2 separate regions of the Homo sapiens genome follow, and region 2 is linked to region 1. Evidence: promoter capture Hi-C in 16 types of primary human blood cells and fetal thymus (Javierre and others, 2016). All regions are on one chromosome and are shown on one strand. Each heading gives the region's core, a stretch centred on a gene start or on the middle of the fragment in contact. The rest is flanking DNA. Distances are from core to core; before and after follow the strand shown.

Evidence for each region. Contacts are between HindIII fragments. The CHiCAGO score rates a contact against its expected background, and 5 or more counts as called.
Region 2: a fragment that was not itself captured here is called in contact with the fragment with the promoter of ATP6V1B1-AS1 in region 1 in 1 of 17 cell types (M2 macrophages); the score reaches 5.6 in M2 macrophages.

What each region holds. Positions count from the first base shown.
Region 1 is chr2:70,946,285-70,952,289 of GRCh38, reverse strand. ATP6V1B1-AS1 (ATP6V1B1 antisense RNA 1) reads left to right here and starts at 3,679. Exons shown (of 2, transcript NR_110274.1): 1 at 3,679-4,063. The region is part of intron 2 of ATP6V1B1 (ATPase H+ transporting V1 subunit B1); the gene reads right to left. The HindIII fragment of the contact is 10,354 bases long and covers 1-6,005 here.
Region 2 is chr2:70,669,005-70,675,009 of GRCh38, reverse strand. It overlaps ADD2 (adducin 2), which reads left to right. Exons shown (of 16, transcript NM_001617.4): 14 at 185-332; 15 at 2,004-2,132. It overlaps LOC105374794 (a long non-coding RNA gene), which reads right to left and starts at 1,755. Exons shown (of 3, transcript XR_940230.3): 1 at 1,631-1,755. The HindIII fragment of the contact is 7,132 bases long and covers 1-6,005 here.

The DNA of each region.
Region 1 (6,005 bases), core at 2,430-4,929:
GGGTTTCACCATGTTGGCCAGGCTGGTCTCCAACTCCTGACCTCAGGTGATCTGCCCACCTTGGTCTCCCAAAGTGCTGGGATTACAGGCGTGAGCTACTGTGCCTGGCCAAGCATCTGTTTCTAATACAATTCTATATAAAACAGGAATGGAAGGCAACTACTTGAACACTAAACTATTAACCAAAACCAACATCAACATCCTTGTACATGGTAAAATGCTAACGTTACTTTCATTTCCAATGAAAATCAGTAACAGAGATGCCTATATTATAATTGTTACCTAACATTGTTTTGGAAGTTTTTGTTTATACAGTAAGACCAGAAAAAGAAAAAAGAAAATTAAACATAAACAGAGAATGTTCTATTTATTTTTATTTATCTTTTTTTTTTAAGACAGAGTTTCACTCGTTGCCCAGGCTGGAGTGCAATGGTGCGATCTTGGCTCACTGCAACCTCTGCCTCCTGGGTTCAAGCGATTCTCCTACCTCAGCCTCCCAAGTATCTGGGATTACAGGCATGTGCCACCACACCCAGCTAATGTTTTGTATTTTTAGTAGAGATGGGGTTTCTCCATGTTGGTCAGGCTGGTCTCGAACTCCTGACCTGCCTGCCTCGGCGTCCTGAAGTGCTGGGATTACAGGCATGAGCCACCGCGCCTGGCCGAGTGTTCTATTTTTTTAAAGGTGGTGGTTGAAGGTGACTGTATTCTTCAAAAATGTCAAAGAAAGGCTGTGGGAAGTCAAAGAAGGGCTGTGGGAAAATGTTCCAGATTATAGGAAGCTAGACAGACATGACAAATGCAATACCTGACCCTAGACTGGATCCTATACTGGAGTGAAAAAAAAAATGCTACATTCCAATTTATCAGCTTACCCGATATCAGGTAAACTGATAAATTGGAATGTGGATGGTAGATTAAAGTATTGTATCAGTATAAATTTCAGAAGTTGATAGCTCTACTGTAGTTATATAAAAGAATATCTTAATTCTTAGGAAATATACACTGAAGTACTTGAGCTTAGCGTACCCTCAAAAGATTCAGGAAGGCCGGGCGCAGTGGATCATGCCTGTAATCCCTGCACTTTGGGAGGCCGAGGCGGGCAGATCACCTGAGGTCAGAAGTTCGAGACCAGCCTGGTCAAAATGGTGAAACCCTGTCTCTACTAAAAATACAAAAATTAGCCAGGCGTGGTAGAGGGCGCCTGTAATCTCAGCTTCTCGGGAGGCTGAGGCAGAAGAATCGCTTGAACCGGGGAGCTGGAGGTTGCAGTGAGCCAAGATTTTGCCACTGCACTCCAGCCTGGGCAACAAGAGTGAAACTCCGTCTCAAAAAAAAAAAAAAAAAAAAAAAAAAATCAGGAAAAAATTATGCACACACAGTCACACATGGAGAGCAAATGATAGAGCAAATGAGATAATATATTAACCGTTGGTGACATGGATGTTCCTACTACTATTTTTATCTTTGCAAATTTTTATAAAATTGAAATTGTTTCAAAATAAAAAGTAAAGTAAAAGTATACTGACGGAAAAAGAGACATAATTCCCTTTATTTGCAGATTATATTATACATTTAGAAAGACTCAAGAGGTTCTGGTTTAGAAAGAAGGTTTTAGAATGAATAAGATAATTTGGCTGTTTATAAGATAAATATTTAAAAATCATTCCCCCCCTCCTTTTTTTTCTATTTTAGTAGTAACCAGTTAGAAGAGGCAACGGAGAAAACCATCCCATCTGCAATAGGGCCAAAACTCATAAAATAGCTAGAAATAAATATAACAAGAAAGGTACAAAAAAAAATTATGGAATAACATAAAACAAGTCCTAAACAATGAAGAACATTATTGTCTTAATGTTCTTAGTTACTAGCATAAAAACATTAATCCTTTTGAAAAGTATATAAATTTGATCCAACCCTAATGGATTATTGTTTATTTTAAAATTTAATAAAATTATTTTAAAGTTCACATAAATGTCTGAGAATAGCCAAAGTAGTTATGAAAAAGATCAGAGATAGAGGACTTGCCTTTTCAGATATTAAAACTTGTTATAAAGCTACTGAAGTCAAGCAGTAAATTGATATGAGGTAGACAAATGGATCAGTAGGAAAGAAAAAAAGTCCAGAAGGAGATCCCAGATTTTATAGGACTATTATAGAACAAATGTTGTATATTAATTAATTCTCAGAGGGGAAATAATATATAGAACATAAGAGGATATCTAGTTAGAAGATAACCACATCATAAACCCAAATACATTCCAGGCATGTAAAAAAAATTTAAATATAAAGTAAAAACAATTTTTAAAAAATACTGGAAGAGCTTTTCTTCTTTCCTATCTTTCTGAATAATCCAATTAAAAGACAGATGAGCAATGTCTTTAAGCAAGACAAGAAATTCAGAAGGTATAAACAAAAAATATTTGATCATATGAGTATTTCAAACTTCTGTATGGCAGAGACACAATAGATGAAATCTTTGTTTCATTTATTGTTGCAAAAGATAGCCTGTGAGCAATAAACAAGGAGCTCCCGTATGCACAACTTGCTTGGTAGGAAGATTTCACGGAGAAGGAAGCAAAATCAAAATGGTAAACATATGGACAGACACTCAACTTTCCTAGTTATCAGAGAAATGTAAATAAAAGCGAGACAGTACTAGTTTTCATTTATTAGATAGGTAAAACTACAGAGAGAACATATTCAGGGCCAGCAAGGATGTGGGGAAGTGGGTCCTCTCATACCTGGTTGGTGGAAATGTGAATTACCACAACCCTTCTGGGCAAGCCATCTTGCCCCAAATTGTCAATATCTAATTTGAAATAAAAAAGTACTTGAACCAGCAATTCCACTTCTGGGAATCTATCCTATAACCACAAAAGCGTCCGTTTAAAAGGGATACAATATTGTACTATTTGTAATGGCAAAACCTGAGAACATACGAATGTCTGTCAATAATGGGACTATTGAGTAAGTTACAGTACATCCATACTATCGCCTGCTATGCCAGTATCCAAAAGAATGCGTAAAATGTGTATCCGCTGACACTGTCAGTGGATCCACTGTCAGTCCCTTGGCTCTCAAGGGACTGACCCCGAGGTCAACCTCTAACATATTTGCCTGTGTTTGAGCGTATTCAGCAGGGTCTTTCGGGGCTGAGAATAAAGCGGTTAGGGGCAGATAGTTAACTTTACGTGTCTTTCCTCTTTTTCACTAAGTTACAAGGAGCATGTATTATTTTTGCAATTAAAATATAATACATTTTTAGGACATGTTACAGCACAGTGCTGGTGATTATCATCATCATTACTATCGTTATATCACCTACTGGCCACAAACTAGTGACCTTAAGGGCTTGCGGGTTGGGGCGGAGGGTCCAATTCCCCAGCAAGGTGTGACCAAGTAGGGACCACTCCGCCAGGGAACCCCTGCTGGTCGAACTTGAGACTAGGTTTGCAGCCCTGACAATCACACGGAAGGGAGCGCTACCTTGAGTCCTCCCTTGTCCTGTGAAGAGGATGCCAGGAAGGTGACCTGTGGTTCCCCAAACCACCCCTCAGCCTTGCGGAGTGGGGGCTTCAGCACTAGGCCGGCCGGGGAGGAGGGCTCCGAGGTGGGAGGAGCTCCGAACACCCAGGCGTCTTGGGTTCTCAACCACAAGAGGGAGCCCAGGAGCACGGACAGCGAGGGCCTGGGAAACGCGTGGAACACACGTCCCGGCTCGTTTTCCTCTCCCACTCTGATAACCTGTGTTTCGATACGAAACGGGCCCTGCCTCATTATTTGTCATCTCCCTGGAGGTGACGGAGGGCTGTTTCAACCTCAGGGGAAAAGTTGCTGTACAGAACACAGGCCAGAGTGTGCCCCAAAGAAATCAGGCGGTGGAGTGATTTAAAAGTGATCATTTTCTGTAGTCCTAGCTACTCGGGAGGCTGAGGCAGGAAAATCGCTTGAACCCGGGAGAAGAAGGATGCAGTGAGCAGAGATCGTGCCATTGCACTTCAGCCTGGCGACAGAGCAAGACTCCGTCTCAAAAAGAAAAAAAAAAAGTGATCATTTTCATGTGAGTTTATGTGGGTGAGAGAGGGAGGGTGGCAGGAGAGGAGAGTGGAGAGGAGAGTGGTGCGTTCTGTGTCCCTGAAGGACAAAATCAGAGAAAATGAACTTTAAATGGCAGAAATTGTGGTCAGATCTGGGGAAGGGCCATCAGGTTTTCACACTCAGGCATGGAGGGTGTAGTGTCTGGAACCTTTAGGAAGAGCCCCAGGCTCTAAGTGTGTGCTGGATGTTCGTCGTTATTGTTGTTGGTGGTGGGATCTCATGACCAGTTATGGCAGTGGGTACCTGGGAGAATTCCCGTGGGGGATAGCTAGTCCAGGAGCTTGTATCTTAAGGGGCCCTATTTCCCAGCCGCATACTGAGCAGGCCTGATCCCATCAACTCGGTTGATGTCGGTTACTAAGAGGGCTGCAGGAAGAGGGCATGACTCAGTGCAATGTAACCCCGTGCTGGAGATTCAACTGAGCTCTCAACCAGCAAGTGGCCAGGCACAGGGGAGCTGCTGTCTACACACGGAGGACTGGAAGTTCTTAGCAAGCCTGTCGGGATTTGTGCACAGGAATGCTGCCTCTAAGGTCCCTCCTGCTGACAATGGCCAGGGCAGTGCGGAGGCTCCTCTTTGGAAATTGTCTTCAGAGCTGATGCAGACTCTTTTGAAAGCAGCCACAGACATTGGGGATGGAGTCTGGTGGTTAAGGTGAGTGCTTACTCCAATTCTCAAACAGGGACCAATTTGAATCACAGACTACAGGAGTCAGAAGATTCTCTAGAACAGAGGTTCTCCGTGTGGTCCCCATACCAGCAGCATCACCTAGGAACTTGATAGAAATGTACATTCTTGGGCCTCCTACCCCAGGCATGCTGAATCAGAGCTCTGGGGTGGGGCCTAGCAATCTGCCTGTTAACAAGCCCCCTGCACCCCTGATATTCTGATGCTTGTTCAACTTATACAAATCAGAGAGTTAGACTTTTCTGGGTCACGAACCCTGAAAAATCAGACGAAACTGTAGAAACTCCTACCAGAAAAATGCACAGGCACATTCATGCATACCTTCAAAGGTCTGCACACAATTTCAAGGGCCTAATTCCTTGGGCTAAGAACCTCTGATCTACACAAAATTCTTCCCTCAAATGTTCTTACATTTGAGGACGGAAGCAGGAAGAGTAATTGCCTGTGTGATTCAATGTGGGCAGAAGGTGGCGCTGTAGAAACAGAATTGTAGCATTTGCCAAATCCTGGTAGAGGGAAAGGGGTAGGGGCAACGGAGAGGGATGGGGAGAGGTGCCTCCACCACCCAATTATTTTTCTCTGCCAAAGCTACAGATGCATCCGATAGTCGCAAAACCACAGGTCTGGGGACCTAGTTCTGGTTTCCTAGATCGGCCTCATTTTACAGTGGAGAAAATGGACACCTGTATAGGTTCCGACTCCATGCCACACTGGGTCCCATGGAGAATGGCAGGTCTGGTGGAGAGTGTGGTGGAGGTGGAGAGGGGGCAGGAGGTGGCACCAACTGTTGAATCAGGCTTATTAGCATTTCTGCATTCCAGGCAGAAACATTGCTGGCTATTCTCAAGGGAGAATAATACTACATTTGTCTGATGTGAACCTCACAATAATCCTATTATTATTTAATAGATGAGGAAACTGGGATTTACAATCCGAGATTGATGGTTCTCTAACTTGAGCATCAGTTCACCTGGAAGGCTTGTGAGGACAGACTTCTGGGCCCTACCCCCAGAGCTTCTGATTCTGTCAGTCTGAGGTGGAGCCCAAGAATTTGTATTTCTAACACGTTCCTGGGCAGTGCTAATGCTGTTGATCTAGGGTTGGCATGTAGCTAGCAGAAAAGAGTGGGATGGATCTGGGATTAAAATCCAAACCCAGTGTGCTGCACTTAACTACTCAGCCACACTTCCTCCTGGGGCGTCCCTTACACTGGGGG
Region 2 (6,005 bases), core at 2,110-4,609, 280 kb after region 1:
TAAGGTAGCAATGGGGAGGAAAGAACAATCCCTACCCCAAGGCCCTGAGCTGTTTCCAAGGAGCTGCATGCCACGCTGTCCCTAGCAAGACCGCTTGCAGCCACATGAATCTAAAAGGAAGCTGGGGCCTGCACCCCAACTGCGGCGTTCAGAGAGCGACACACCCTCTGTGGTTAACTTTCAGTCTACAGAGAGCCAGCTGATGTCCAAGGGAGACGAGGATACCAAAGACGATTCAGAGGAGACGGTGCCCAACCCCTTCAGCCAACTCACTGACCAGGAGTTGGAGGAGTACAAGAAAGAGGTGGAGAGGAAGAAACTAGAACTTGATGGTAAATGACCCTGAGGCACACCCTTGCTTCCAAGTCCCCCAGGGTGGAGGGGAGAGCTCAGGACTACCAAGAGAGGACCTTCCTGCCCCATCATCAAAGAATATTTCTACTGTAGTTCCATTAATCACAAAAATGCCCTTCATTGCTCTGTTCCTGACAGTTACTCGGTGCCTTCATGACCTCACTTGACCCTCTTACCGGGCATAAAGGAGTTAATACTTGTAATGTGCTTAGAGAAGTGCCTACAAATATGGCTTAGGCCAGTAAACACCAGATCAATTTTAGCTATAATAATGATCATAGTCATCATTATTATTTCCCACCAGGTCTACTATAAGCCTTTTAGCCTGGCAATCAAAACCCTCCACCAGCTGACACCTTTGTGTCTTTTTCTCGCTCCTTTATTTCAGATTCTTGAGTGAAGCCCATCTCTCTGTGTTGACTCCCAAATATTCACTCACAGTAGCTTGTATGCCCTTGTTCCTACCTTTGTCTCTTCCTGGCATGGTTCCCCTTCTTGGCTAGCCTGATCAGTCCCGGCTTCCTCTCAAACCCCTCTCCAGCTAGGAAGGGCCTCCCTGTCACCCTCTCTACTCCACCCAAATTGAGCTGTCCCTTCTCTTTGCTTCCTGACCACTTGGGGTCTGAGACACATAATTCAGCTTTTGGTTGTGTCCACTGGGCTAGACTGACACTCCCTCAAGGCAGGGTCTTCTTCCACCATCTCCATTCCTCACCCCAAGTCAGCCACCTTCCTGGACACAAAGCAGACACTTAAAAAACCCTTGCTGGCCAGGAATGGCCTGTAATCCCAGCACGTTGGGAGGCCAAGGCTGGTGGATCACCTGAGGTCAGCAGTTCGAGACCAGTCTGGCCAACATGGTGAAACCCCGTCTCTACTAAAAATACAAAAATTAGCCAGGCATGGTGGTACACGCCAAAAATCTCAGATACTCAGGAGGCTGTGGCAGGAGAATTGCTTGAACCCAGAAGGCGGAGGTTACAGTGAGCTGAGGTCACACCACTGCACTCCAGCCTGGGTGACAGAGGGAGACTTCATCTCAAACAACAACAGCAAAAACCAAAAAACCCTTGCTGGCTTGCTTGGAGCTCTAATGTGCCAATTGAAAAGCAAATAGAGGAACATGGCACTTTTTATCCCTAGGGATTGTTTGGACAGAAAATGTAAATTTGATGAATTAAACAATAGTTACATGCAAAGAAATCATGGGTGTTTTTAAGGGGAGTCAGCAAAAAATAAAATAAGGGGAGTTGGTGGTTGTGGGTCCACCTCTTACCCGTTGATGTGCTCTGTGCTCACGACACAAAGCTCCTGGCTGGTTCTCTTCAGAGACAGGACAGGAACGAGAGCCAGGCTCTGGTCCGGCCGTGTGCGAGTTCTTCAGCGTTGCCCTCCACATCTGGAGTAACATATTGGTAGGTGTGTTTTGATGAAGGAAACATGACTCCACCCTCTCCCATTGGCCTTCCCAGGGAAGTAGCAGAAATCTAAGAAGGTCAGGGGGAGGAGCTAACTTCAGCTAGAAGTCTCATTATCAGCCAGGAGGATTGATGACCAAATAGAAAAAAGTAATTTTTAAAAGGCTTTATTTCCCTGCCCATCTCTTCTCTATTTGACCTCTATCCTGAGGTGTTTTTCTGTTTTTTCAGGAGAGAAAGAAACTGCCCCAGAAGAGCCTGGCTCACCTGCAAAGTCTGCACCTGCTTCTCCAGTGCAGAGCCCAGCGAAGGAGGCAGAGACAAAGAGCCCTTTAGTCTCTCCTTCCAAGTCTTTAGAGGGTGAGTCCAGCTGAGTAGGCTGGGAGGGAGGGAGAGGGGTGCATCTGCAGGCTGGGAAGGTGCCCTGCCTTCCACTCGTGTTGCCCCTAATCTGAAAATCTTTCCCCTCTGCTATTTCTAGGAAATCAGAAATAGGGGTTATCAAGTTTCATGTTGTTTCACTCACAAGCTATAACACTACACCTTGCAGCTTAAACCCAGTATAAGCAATGAAGAATAAGTTACTGGCTGGCCCCCGGCTCCTTGCCCCAACTCAGACATGGCCGGGGCTGTTAGGCCTTTCCAGATGCACTAGCCCCTTTCTCAGACCTTAACGTGTATAGGTACCACCTGGGGATCTTGTGAAACTGAAGATTCTACTTAGTAAGTCTGGGATGTGGCCTAAGATGCTGAATTTCCCAGGTGAGGGTAATGATGTCATACTCAACCTTAACCGCACATTGGAATCACTTGCGGAGCTTTAACCGTCTTGATTCTTGGATCCCATCCCCAGCTTTTCTGAGTTAAGGAAAACTCAGAAAAGTCTGGAGTCAGGTGGGTTTAGGAGTACAGCCTGGAGTTTTCACGTCTCTCCAGGGGAATCTAAAGTGTGTTCCAGGTTGAAAACAGCTTCAATAGAGAGCTACTAGCTTAAAGAACGGAGTTCGAGGCCCAACTGAACTGCTAACTAGTAATAACAGCTAATTTTAGCAAATCAGCATCTCTGAGCCTCAGTTTTGTTGACTGTCAGATGGGGCTACTCATATAGTCCCTTTTTATATATGTATAAGGGAAGTGTAGGTGAAAACATACTTTGAAAGAGTAAAAGCAGGACTTAAATAATTTAAGATGCAATTACGGTTATGGTTAATAGTATACATAAAGTGGATAAGAATTATAGTTCCTGGCCACCTAAATCATAAAAGTATCTTTACTGAGCTCCTGGAATCACTCCAGGGCATGCACACTCCATCCCAGGTCCCCGGAGACCCCCACCAGACAGAGCTGTCCTGCTACCCAGAGAGCAGAAATCTGGTGGCCTATTGGAATCTTCTCCCTCTGGAGTAGAACGGCCACACGTGTGGATTCTGATAGAATCCCCCAACCCTGAGCTCCCTCCACAAGCAAACTATTGCCTCCTGTGCAGGCCCAGTGTTGCCAGAAGAAACCCGTCTGCTTGAGGCCAGAGCCCCAAGTGGATGTACCCCGACTGTTGTGTTCATTGTGTCTCACTGTGGTGTTGTCAACCTGTCTCCACAATGTCTTCCTTTCTCTTCCCATTTGTGCCTTCATCAAAGGAGTTTCCTCCGATTCTGAATACTTGTCTCTGTAGTAAGTATAGAGAGGCTGTTTACTAACTCACTGCAACCCTTGCAATGGGGGAGGGAGGATTTTTTTTTTCAAAAGAAATAGATTTCTCCCCACATTTTTCTTTTGCGACTCACAACTCTGCCTTTGGGAAGTTTCCTGGCTGTAAAATTCATGGCCAATTCCACATGCACTATGCATGGATTAGGCTTCTCTACATGAGATGTGGATATACACACATAGGCCACACACATACACAAACACACAGGCACACACGCCCAGAAGCAACAAGCTCCCAAGAGTTTGCAGGCAGTAGGGCCAACTCTCGGGCACTCCCGGTGGTAGAGTGCTTACGGCTCTCAGGCGCTCACTCCTACCCCTCTTCCTAATGCACAGGCACCTTGAAGGAACCTGTGGCCTCATCTAGGTTTTGGGCTAGAGCCTGAACTGCCTTATAAGGATGCATAGAGGGCCTGGTCTGCTAGGGTCTTCAGGACATGTGTTCCAGCTGCAGGAAGGAAATCCAGGGCTGGAGAGGAGGCTCATGGAGGAGTGGGACAAGGGCCAGGAAGGGCATGCAATGGGTGGGGTAGCTGTTTACCCACTGCCTGACATTTTACACCCTATAGCAGGATTCTTCATTCTTCCCCTGGAGGGGCCCACGGTTGAGTTGTTAGAAGAGTTGTCTTGAAGATACTTCCCATAACCCACTTCCTATAACAGACAGAGCTAGGGAGCATGGCACCTTGGAGCAGACCCTGCATGACGAGGACACAAGCTGTAGTTGGGTGGGGAGCCCGGTGTGAAGCCTTGGCCAGGCTGCTCACAGGCTTGCTGGACTCCTGGGCAGACAGAACTGACCCACCATGCAAGTCTCTGCTCTTTCACATCTAGCCCACCCATCAGATCAGGGATGGCTTTTTCCAACCATTTGCCACCATGTCCTCAATTCTCTTATGCTGAGTCGCCTCAGTGTCACTCCTCATCTGTCTACCTGACTCCTACCCCATCAGCCTCTCTGAAGGCTGGCCATCAGAGAGAGCCTTTGCATCTGGTCATCTGTGCTATCACCTTCTCTTTAGCTCCTGTCAGACCCTTGTCCCAGCTCACCTTATCCTCTGCTGAACCCTCAGGGCAACTGGCTACGCCTGCAAAGAAATAGCCCTGTATTTGACATCACATGATCACATGATCAGCTCTGCCACTAACTAATCTAGCCATCTCAAACAAGTCATTTAAAAACACTGCTGGATGGGAATAACATGAATCTGCCTTTCCTAACCCACAGCATGTTGTCAGGATAAAATGAGCTACTGAATATAAAAGTACTTTGTAATATGCTTTACATAAGTTAGTCCTTTTTATCTACCATGTTCTCCAAATTGTGAGAGCTAATACAGTACTTGATGTTTTAAGCCACTAAGTTTTAGGGTGGTTTGTGATGCAGCAATAATATTTGATTTAAGTCATGGTATAGAATAAGAACTAGTATTACGGAAATTAGTTCTTTTGTGGGTTGACTGGGGTTGTTGGGGCTTAGCTGGATGATTTCTAATTGATGTGATATCTGCGGAGGGCTCCAGTCAGTAGGGAGCTTGACTAAGCTGGAACTTCCAAGATGGTGCACTTACATGCCTGGTACCTTAGCAGGGGCAGCTAGAAGGCTGGGCTCAGCTGGGACACTGAGATGGCTGGGTGTCTGTCTGTCTGTCTGTCTCTCTGTCTGTCTCTCTCTCCCTCTATGTGGTCTCAGGGCCCACCCATGCGGCCTCTCTACATGTTTTTCCATCAGGGTTGTTGGACTTTATACATGGTGGTATAAGGCTCCCAAAACTGTGAAAATAGAAGTTGCTAGGCCTTCTTAAGTCTTTGGCCTGAGGCCTGCTTTGTGGATCTTCCACTGCATTCTATTGGTTTTGCCAGCCACAGGGCCAGCCCAGATTCAGTGTGGATACCCGGAGGGATAGCTCATTGGGGTCATATTTGCACACAAGCTCTACCAGATACTGAAAGTATATTTGGGTACTTAGAGGAACATTTGTATCCTAGCTGTGGTGAGTGGATGGGAGTCACAGAGTCCACTGCATCCATTTATGAGAAGCTCTACTTTCTTTTTTATCAGTGGTACTCTCAGTTTTTGGGGGTAAGTAAACGTCGGATAAAGCATAGCATTCTAAACTTATGTTTCTCAATGTGTGGCTAATGGGCCTTTTGTATCAGAATTACCTGGGGACTTGTTAAAAATCTCTATTTCTTGGTCCACCTTCTGTTTCAGTTTATTGTGAGGACAACACTAAAGAAGATGCATTTTCACAAGCTCTCTGGGTGATTCTTTCAGACACGGATGTTTGAGAATTTAAACCCAGACAGAAACTCTGTTGCAAACCTCTCTGCGTGGCCAGCATCCAGCTCAATGGTCGGCCATGGGCAGCTCAGCTTGTTGCTCTTCTTCCCCTCTGCTCTGTTCTTTGAGCACCCGTGGGCCTTCTTGACTGTTGCTGCATGAGTGCCCAGCCCTTGTGTCAACATAGGACATGTTTTTTTTCAAGGTCTTTAATGAATCTCTCTATGACCTCTCTATGCAAT